Regions from separate parts of the Homo sapiens genome. Here region 1 is linked to region 2. Evidence: promoter capture Hi-C in human tissues and cell types (Jung and others, 2019). All regions are on one chromosome and are shown on one strand. The core of a region is centred on a gene start or on the middle of the fragment in contact, and the rest is flanking DNA. Distances in the headings are between cores, read along the strand shown.

Region 1 (5,261 bases), core at 552-3,051, 42 kb before region 2:
CCACCCATCCACTTCCATATCACCAATCAAAGCTATTTTACATGGCTACCCTGGCTAAAAGGGAAGTGCAATTTTTTTTTTTTTTTAACTCTGAGGACATTGTTTTAACTCTGAGGACATCATAATCAACTCAGAATTCTCTACGTAGTGAAGGGATGGCTATAAGGGAAGGAAAAGATACTGGTTGGCTACCAAAAGATCTATTATACCATCAAGAAAATTAAGCAAGTTGTAAACAAATAAAACAAATATTTTAACTGTATATCCTGGGACAGCTAGTTTCTTCACAACTTAAAATTTCTATTTGTTTAATATGTAAACAGTTTCAGAACCCAAATAAGGAAAGGAAGTTTACCAATTCTTTTTACAAAGCTATTGAAGCAATGAAACCTAATCTGAAAAACTGTAGAACAAAAAAGAAAATGATTTTAAAAGTTTATTTGGTAAGATAGATGAAAAATCTCTAAACAAAAACCTAGCAAATTGCATATAAAATAATATATAAAAGAATACTATGCCATGAATAACATGCTTTATGCCAGGATTACAATGATGATTAATATCAGAAAATGGATGGATGAATAGATAGATGCATGATAGATGATTAATTGATAGAGAGAGAGAGAGAGACAGAGACATCACCATATTAACAAGTCAAAGGAGAAAAGATTTGGTCATTTTAATAGATGATAGCATTCAATATCATTTCTTCTATGGTCTGAATTTTGGTATCCCTCCCCTAAAATTCATTAGTTGGGACCTAATACCCAGTGTGACAGTATGAACAGACAGAGTTTTTTCAAAAGTATTAAGCCATGAGAGTTCCACCTTCATGAATGAGATTACGGCCCTTATAAAAATGTTGAAGGGTTCAATCTTTCCTTTTCACCATGGGAGCATGCAACAAGAGACTCTGTCTATAAAGCAGAGATGGCCCCCACCATATACCTACTTTGCCTGCACATTTATCTTGGACTTCCCAATCTCCAGAATTGTGAGCAATAAATTTCAATTGTTTATAAACTCCCTAGTCTAAGGTATTTTGCTATAGCAGCCCAAACAAACTAATATGATTTCCTAGTAGGGGAAAAATAATTCTTAAACATAATAGGCTAGCTTAAACCTAGAGGCAATAACACACTTGATGAAATATTGTAATTGTTACCATGAGTGGGAAGAAAAAATATCAGGATGCCTTTTCTCCCCAACGTAACATTTCTACCAAAGAAGTAGCTGGTTCAATCACTACTTTGTTAGCCTTTTTTTTAAGTTAAGTATTAGAATAGATAGGACATAAATTCAATAATTTGCTGATGATATAATTATTAGAAAACCAACAGCAAACATATTAGAAATAGTAAGAATGTTCAAAGTGATGATAAATTGGGAGTTCAAAAATAAGAAAAACAGATTTCTTAAAGACTAATATTAGAAAATATGGTGAAAAATTATCTATTTATAATAGCAGACAAAATTTTAAAAAGTGTAGATAAATCTAATGAGAATATGAGATATCATTGGAAAAAATGTCTACAAATCTCACTGAAAACATATGAAAAACAGTTTAAATAAATAAAAAAGAATAGTGTATTATTTCCTAGCAAAGATCAATATAATACAAATATCAATAGCTCCCCTATTCAAATAGTCATCCCAAATAAAAGTTTCAAGAATATATCTTTAATTTGCAAAACCATTTCAAGAAGTCATTTGTAAAGATAACATGAAAATAAGAAGAAAAATTTTGACAAAAACTGGATTATTTAAGGGACCTTTTCCTTCCAGTTATTCGAAACACCTTATATAGCTAAATATCAAAAATGTTTAGAACTGCTGTAAATAGTTTGGTGCCAGGGGAAAAACATACATTAGAATGGAATGTATTGTTTTCTAGAAAAAAGAAAGAAGAGAATAGAATCTGTTTTACCCTTTATGCAAAATGCATTCTATAGAAAGCTTTGTTTAAAAAAAAAGAAAAGAAAAAAGGAAACAAGAAAAGGGGAGAGGGAGACAGGCAGGCAGGGAGGGAGGCAGGGCAAAAACATAGGAAGAAAATATAGATCAATAGTAATAAAGTCCTGGAGACTGAGAAAGATCTGAACATAGTACAAATGACAAAAGTCACTTTAAACGTTTAGATAAATGTTGTAATATAAAATGTCAATGTATAAAATATTTAAAACCTCTATATGAAAGACATAAACAAAGAAAGAAATGATGAACAAACTGGGCAAGGGCCACCTTCAATACATTATTTATAGAAAAAACTTTCAAATCAATAAAAAGTCAACCACCCCAATAGAATAAAAAATGACTATGTATTTTACAATACATAATAAGTATATCTAGATGGACAGATAGATAATTTCCAGCTTTTCTCATATTACAAATGATGTGGTTGGAAAATTTCTTGTTCAAGTCTCCCAGTGACAGATGTAAGAAATTCTGAAGGATGTATACCCAGGAATGCAACTGCAGATTTGAAAGGTTTGAATATCCTCAACCTTACTATATCATGCTAATTGTTTTCTAAAGTGTTTGTACTAATGTACACTCCCACCTGCTGGGACTATGAACACATTTACTTCCCTCTAAAGTAAAGTCTGGTATTTTCAGACTTTTTAAAATAGGCCCATCTGTTAGAACTAAAAAGTATCATTGAGAACTTCATTTACTTTTCATACATCTAATGATGTCAAGAATCTTTCATATGTTTATTGATGATTCCTACTTTCTGTAAAATGCCTATTTATGCCTTTGTCTTAGGAGTGAGTTTTTTATTTCAAAATATGTAGGCGTTTAATATTTGTGATTCCTAAATCAATTACATTATGGACAGAGAATGTGGTCCAAATGATACCAGTTATCTGAAAATGTTTAAGACTTGCTCTATGGCCTACGCTTTATGACATGGGTCAGATTTATAAATGTTCATGTGAGTTGGGAAAGAATAAGTGTGTTGAGTCAAAGTTCTCTATTTTATCCTATATATGTGCTTTAGATCAAGCCTATCTATCACTTTTTTTTGAGATTATTTACTTGATCTATCCCATGCTAAAAGCAGTATGCTCAAATATCCAAATACGTCGATATATTATCTGTTTCTTCTTGTAGATGTAGAAATCTTGCTGCAGTAAATTTTTAAGCTATGATACTCAATCTATGTATGTTTAGAATTATTGTATGTTTATGGCCCTTGATCCTTTATCATTAGCTAAGGCACACCAGTTTTATCTAATTTAACATAAGTCTAATATATTAGTTTGTATCATTTCTCTTATGGCTATTCTTACTCGTATGGTTAAAGATGTATATGCGGTAAACAGCAGATTGTATAAGATATATCAAAGAAGATCAATAAAGCTAATCATTCTGTTGACAGTTTAATAAAGTTTAATAAAATTATTCCACCTTTGGCAAGAGTAATCTTTTTTCTTTCTTTTTCTGATCACTGATATATATGAATGTATTTTTACCATCTTATTTTCTGCTTTGTCCCAGGTTTGCTGTGCTCCTTTTGCTCCTCTCTTGTCTTCTTTTACATTTTTTTATTTTTCCCCCCATTTTTTCTCCTTTTGTAGTTTGGAATTATATACTGCATTCTGTTCTTTAAGTGGTTACTCATTTTTTAATTGCATGCTTCACTTAAGACTAAAGTAAATCAATGTATATACCCACCTTCTAAACAACTTGGGGAAATTAGAGGACATCTAAACTCCAATCTCTCTCTCTCTCTCTCTCTCTCTCTCACACACACACACACACGCGCAAATGTGCACATGCACAGTCAAAAATTTCCCATCTTGTGTTGTTCTAATGCCTTCACCATAGATATCATTGTAACATGTTTACCATTTCCTTTGTTTACCAACTTTTTAAAAATCATGCCTTCCTTTTAGAATCATTCTCCTTCTATCTAAAATGCATCCATTTCTTTTGAAATTCAGTTTTGTCTGAAATCTCTGTTCTTCTGTCATTTTTCTTAAATTTTTTTTTTGGCTATATAGCTTTTGGTAAGTAGTTGCTTTTCCTCAACATTTTAACAATATTAGTTCTTCCCGCTCTTCTGTCAGAATTCTATATCTGTCTTTGGTGTTTAATAGTTTCGCCGTGATAAATTGGGTTATAGATTTCCTTTTGTTTATCCGTCTAAGAAAGTACTGACTGTTATTTGTCAACCAAACATTTTAAAATTAAAAATCAATTAAATATTTTAAAATTTTTTTGAAAGATAGAATAAATACATAAAAGTACACACTTCACTGCTAGACTCCCTAGCTTTTAATCTTGATTCAGCAACTTACCAACTGTAGGATTCTAGGAAAGTTATTTAGTTGATTCTTCAGTTTCCCTATCTATCAAACAATATAACAATAATAATAATAATAATAATAATAATAATACTCACCTAATAGTAACCCTACCTGGGCCATAGTAAATGTATGTATAACATTTGATTTATGGTAAAATTAATAACTACAGTTTTCTTAGTATTCTGCTTATTTTCACCTTCTGAAAATCTGATCAGTCTTCTTGTTTTGAAATCTCTTTATGCTCTTTTTCATGTAGTCATTCTCTTTGCCTCCTTGTTCTTCCTTGATAAATTTTTTCATGTTTGTCTTTACTTCTGCTCTATCAAAAGACTTTTTAACAAATTCACTGGATTCTCTATGGTAAAAGAAAAACTTCAGACGAATTAAATTTAAAGGAGTTTAATTGAGCTACAAACCATTCGTGAATCAGAATCACAGCACATTCAGAGACTCCACAGATGCCTTCTGGTCAGAACAAAGTTACAGACAAAAAAAAAAAAAAAAAGTAAAGTGACGATAGAAATCAGCAGTAAGGCACAGAAATAGCTGGATTGGTTACAGCTCAGCTCAGCGTTTGTCTTACTTGGACACAGTTTGAACATCAGCAGTGTATGAATGGTTGAAGTACTCGCTGAGATTGGCCAAGAATCAGCGATTGTTACAGGCGCATACTCCTAAGTTAGGTGTTCGAACTTGTCTATTAAGTTAGGTTGCAGTTCATCCACAAGGACTCAAACATAGAAGTATGGAGTCCTTCTCGGTCATATTTAGTTTGCTTTCTCATGTATAAAATAATTCTGTCATCTTGGGTTCTCATGAATCCGATTGTGCATTTTATTGTTTCTGCTGACCCTCATTCAGGGTGCCTTGTTTCCTCATGTGTTTTGTGTTGTATGCTGAAACTTTATATGTAATAGTTTTTTGTGTACAAGTTGGAAAGTGAATTAT
Region 2 (5,031 bases), core at 1,918-4,417:
GTGTGTGCAGAGACATGACCATCTCCTGTATGAGGGTGATCATTCCTGAGGATCTATAGATTCCTTGATCCCCACGAGTTCCAGTGGATCTACAGATAAACAGTTGGGTGAAGAAGAATCAATTGAGAATTGAGGTCAGAGAACTTAGGTTCTGGTTCTAGCTCTGCCATTTAATAAGCTGCGACTTGCATGAAGACCAACATCCTCTACTGTAAGGAGTGAAATAGCAACCATCACTGTGGATGTAACTCTGTCAAATAGCTTGGAATTTAGTAGGCTTGAAACAAATTTTGGTTAAATCTTAATTTCCATTATATTAGGGTTCCATGTCTACGTTTCCAATACAAAGATATTGTGAGAAATATCAGATAATTTAAATGAAAGAAATATCAAATAATTAAAATGAACACATTGCAACAATGGAAAATAGTAACATGAAGGCAGTTAAATTCAAGGAATTAAGTTTCATGAATTTGATCAATGCAATTACTGTTACCTACCTCTGTTTAAAAAGACAGAGAACAATAATTTTTACTCTTCTTTATCTCTTTTTCGTAAATTCTCTTTTCTTCCTCCCTTTTCCCATATAACCCAACTTCACAACCTTTTTATTTCAAAAAAATGCAAAGTTTATTAGACATTTAATAACCTACACATTATTCTGATGCTTTTTATTTCTTTGCTGCATAGGTGATTGTCTACATTGTTTCCAAATTATTGTACGAACTGGATTTTTTTTTTTTTTTTGCAAGATAATAGGAGACTCGGATATTGGCTATAGTGGATTCCACTTCTGCTTAATCCAGGTCAGGATTTATGGAGACCTCATGTGGTGACAAGAGGCACCACAGAAGGCTTTCTTCAGGCTGGGTTTAACAGTGAAAGAGAAACTCAGAAATTCATATGGGAGCAAAATAATCCATAAAGAATTAAGACCTAGAAGTTAATGTTTCTGAAGCCTGCAAGGCCTTCAACAAACATCCTGCAGTAATACTAATGGAATAATACAGTAATATGTTAAAGGACAGGAGACCTGGTTGTTTATGTATGTATAAAATTCCCCTTATCAACTAAAAAGTTAATAACGCAAAAAATAGTAAGATATGCCTCTCAAGAATTAATTACAGTCTTTCTTTTTTCTGAATGAAATCCACTGAACATAGCTTCTTATTTAAATTGGCTTCAAATTTTAAAAAGATGTTTCTGTAGGCATGTTGCTATGTATGTTAGTTTCTCCTTGGTTTTACACAAAACAGAAAGTGATCAGAGATAGAATGAAACTTGAACTTATGTCTGTGAATTTCACTTATGCAACAATATCAATAATATTATTTATAAATATTTGGAATGCAGGATATGTTCTTGGAATTAAAATATGGAACAACAATTCTATGTGGTGCACAAAGTTGAACACAAACACCTCTTGTTGCTGACAAGATATTAAAGTTGTGAAATTAAATAAATTAATGTATCAGCAACCATATTTAACCACATAATTTACTGGTACACACTAAGGAAAATTCACTGAGGGTTGGGGGAGCTCCTTCCTCAATGACAGGTACTTGTTCTTTATCTCATTTTCCTTACAAGAAAATGTGACAAGGGCTTCTTTTTTCTCCTCCTCAAGGAAGTTACATAACAGACCTTTAAGCTAAAATCTAGAAGGACAAATGAGTTAATAAATGTCAAATGTTTTTGAAGGTTTTAAAAGAATAGAGCAATATAAATCTGTGGCATTAAAATGAGTAATCCTAAGAGTTCCAATTCAGTTATCAGATGGTACCCTGCCTTTGGGCGTGTCCTCGAAAAGGCTTACGTTTTCCAAGGCAGGCAAAATGAGGTAAGTAGGGGTAGCCATTATGAAAGGACATCTTAGAAAATGTTAACCAGGAAAAACGTTAATGAGGATATTGCAGAGATTTTAGGTTGAGCATACTCTTGAGTTAAAGAAATCGGTTACTTATGAGGAAACCTATTATGTGGCAGGCATAGATGCTGGAAATACAAAGAGTTGGACAGGTCTTGCTTTCAAGGAAGCTTCTAATAATTATACAAATAACTACTACAATATGAGGCTGGTATTAGGCGGGGGCTTGCACAAATTCCAGGGAAAGCTTCTTAACGTGGAAATGGGAGGAAGAACAACAATATGATGCATATTAAATCCAAGAGAAGGAGCAGAGTCATTTAGATGTCATTTCAAACTTACAGTGACATTGGCTCTTGCTGGGGGGGAAAGGGGGGCGAGAGAGGCAGCCGTTGCCAGACATACGTCACACTAAAGAGACAAGATGAAACAAGGAAATTCTCTTTCAAAACATAGCGGGGAAAAAAATATCCAGAACTGCCCTGAAATAAAGAAAACCTTCTGGTATAATGTGCGTTGCTAGGGATTTATTTTTTCCCCTCCTTTCTCTCATAAGAGAGTAAAAAATCACACAGATACGTTCAAGCCCTTAAGAGTTTTGTGAGCCTATTGAATATCCAAGACATCAACTGACCACGGTGTGGTTCAGTGTGTGTCTACAAAGGAAGGGTTAAACGGAAGGGGGTGGCTTGGAGATAGAAAGGCAAGCAAGAAGGTTGGAAAATGCTGTTTTCCAACTTGCAAAAACTGAACTTTTCAGCTCCCCAAAATACACGTGTGTGTCTGTAAGCGCAGGCAGATCTATTTCGGTAGGATTTTTCTTAAATTTAAATCATAATTTCTCTGTTTCTGTCTCTCTGTCTCTTGCTGCGCTGCAAAGAGTGAGCAGCCCCCTTAAGGATCGCGTGGCAAAAGCTGCAGGAGAGGCACTGGCAGGGCTGTTTATTTATGAGCCGCGTTCAAAGCCGACCTCTTCCCATTCTCCCACTGCAAACGACTATCTCCGAGCCCAGGTCACCTCTGGGGCCAAGGAGTTGGGGGCTGGGGCTCGGGTGGCTCCTTCTTCGGGCCAAGTTTGCCCGCGCGTGGGAGCGAGGGGGCGAGCCAGGGCGCACGGGAACGCGCGCCGCCAGCCGCCGCCTCCGCCCAGCGCTGGCAGCCCCGGCCTCACCTCTCCCCTCTCCCCAGCGAGGTGCGGGCTCCCAGAGCGGAGCCAGGGGGCGGGCCTGGGCCTCGAGGGGCGGGGTCAGGGGGCGGAGGCTCGGGCGGCTATATAAGGCCCGCGCCGGCTCAACTTCGGACTTGGTGTTATTTATTTGGGAAGCGCCCGGACGGCGGAGCTTGGCGGCGGCGGTGGTGGTGGCTGCCGCAGACTGTGGTTAAAAAAAAGAAGGCGGCGGCGGCGGCGGCGGCGGAGGCGGAGGCAGCTGCGAGGCATGGGAGCGCCGAAGCGCCCAGGCGCAGGCCGAAGCTGCCGCGCTTTCTGGGCACGGCGGGAGTGCTGAGCAGAAAGGGGAGCGCCGGGGGCCCGCAGCCGGCTCCGGAGGCGCGGGCCGGGTTTTTGTTTGGCTACGCTGAGCGCCAGTCAGCCCCAGCGAACAACTCCAGTTACGACAACAACCCACCTTCCTTCCAGACAAGCGAGACTTGGGCTGCTGCGTCCGTCCTATTGTTTAGACACTTGCCAGGGGCTCCGGAGTCGGCAGAGCCACCGAGTCCCCGCTCTGAGTCGTCGCCCTCCCTCTCCCCGACCTCGCTCCCTGGAGCGGGAGGCCAGGAAAGCAGCGGGAGAGGGGAAGGGGCTAGAAGGAGAAGGACTACCCGGGACTGCGGCCGCCGCGTCAGGTGCAGCGCCAGGAGCCGGGCGGCGTCGCCACGCCGGCAGGGGTACCGCCACTGTGGCCTTGGGGGACGGAATTCAAAGCCTGGGAAAAGTTGCTGCACTTTGAGAAGGACGAACCACTAGTGGGAGACCGCCGGGGGCCGGCCGTGGCTCTGCGCCCTCCGGAACCCGGCTCTTGTTTCTTCTACCTTTGCCATCAGGTGTCTGCCGCGGAGCTGCGGCTTATCTGGGAGACGAGCGGGGTTGACACGCGCGCACACACTACTGCCATTCAGCTGCCGCCTGGCTCTGCCTGGAGTAGTGGATCCCACCCGCCCACCTGCCACCGAGCCATTCTCCAGTACGCCCCAGCAGGACGCTGACACCTCCAACCTTGGCCTTTGCCTTTCCACTCCTTCCGGTCTGCCTGGTTTTTAAGTCCGCCCCCAGTCAGTCCCCACTCAGTCTTCGCAGCAGCTCTCATCCTCCACTTGGCCTCTTGGAGTTCCTCGCCGGAGTGCTGACTAGTGGATATTTCTGCCCGGCTGCGGCGGCCCGACTGCCCTTTTGTCTTTTCTGCGTGACCTCGGGGCAGGTCCTGGTGCAGAGCGTCGCCAAGGACGCCGAGCGGGAGGCGGGATTGCCCAGACATCCTTCAGCGAAGTGCATGTGTGTTTGTAAACCATCGTTGGCTGTCGGGAGACCGCGAGGACCGGTCCAGGCTGCGGCGGAGTCGAGGGCGAGGGAGAGGCCGCGTGAGTGAGCAGAGTCCAGAGCCGTGCGCCCCCAGAACTGCGCGTCCGCCCCGTGCACCCCCGCGCGCCATGCCCAGTTGCCCCGCGCGCTCTGCTACGGGCCCGCTGGGCTTCCGCGCCTTCTAGCTTCCGGAGCCCACTTTGATCGGGGCCATAATACCTATTGAGATCCCCTCTTCTGTCTTGTACCTTCGCCACTGGCATCGGATTTGCAGAAGCGTGCGTGGGATCAGAGGACCGCCCTCCCCACAACAACCGGCCCCTGCATCTTAGCAGCCGTTGGAAGCCCCAGCTCTTTTACCGCCAAGTTCATCCTTGGGAGACAGAAGACGCGTGATCTCCTCTCCGCTGCTCTTGGGGTCTCCTTGCAGCCCTGGCCAGGCGGATTCATCCTCAGGACCTAAAGTTGCCCAAGGAGCTCCTGCTCTGCCAGAGGAGGGTGGAGAGGGCGGTGGGAGGCGTGTGCCTGAGTGGGCTCTACTGCCTTGTTCCATATTATTTGGTGCACATTTTCCCTGGCACTCTGGGTTGCTAGCCCCGCCGGGCACTGGGCCTCAGACACTGCGCGGTTCCCTCGGAGCAGCAAG

Evidence for each region. Contacts are between HindIII fragments. The study calls those that stand out against the background at their distance.
Region 1: a contact is called between a fragment that was not itself captured here and the fragment with the promoter of SLIT2 in region 2, in 1 of the 25 tissues and cell types used here (stomach).

The regions. Positions count from the first base shown.
Region 1 is chr4:20,208,058-20,213,318 of GRCh38, forward strand. It overlaps LOC105374514 (a long non-coding RNA gene), which reads right to left and starts at 4,901. Exons shown (of 3, transcript XR_925450.2): 1 at 4,730-4,901. The HindIII fragment of the contact is 4,639 bases long and covers 1-4,121 here.
Region 2 is chr4:20,248,738-20,253,768 of GRCh38, forward strand. It overlaps SLIT2 (slit guidance ligand 2), which reads left to right and starts at 3,168. Exons shown (of 37, transcript NM_004787.4): 1 at 3,168-5,031. RefSeq lists an enhancer at 4,284-5,031. The HindIII fragment of the contact is 10,378 bases long and covers 1-5,031 here.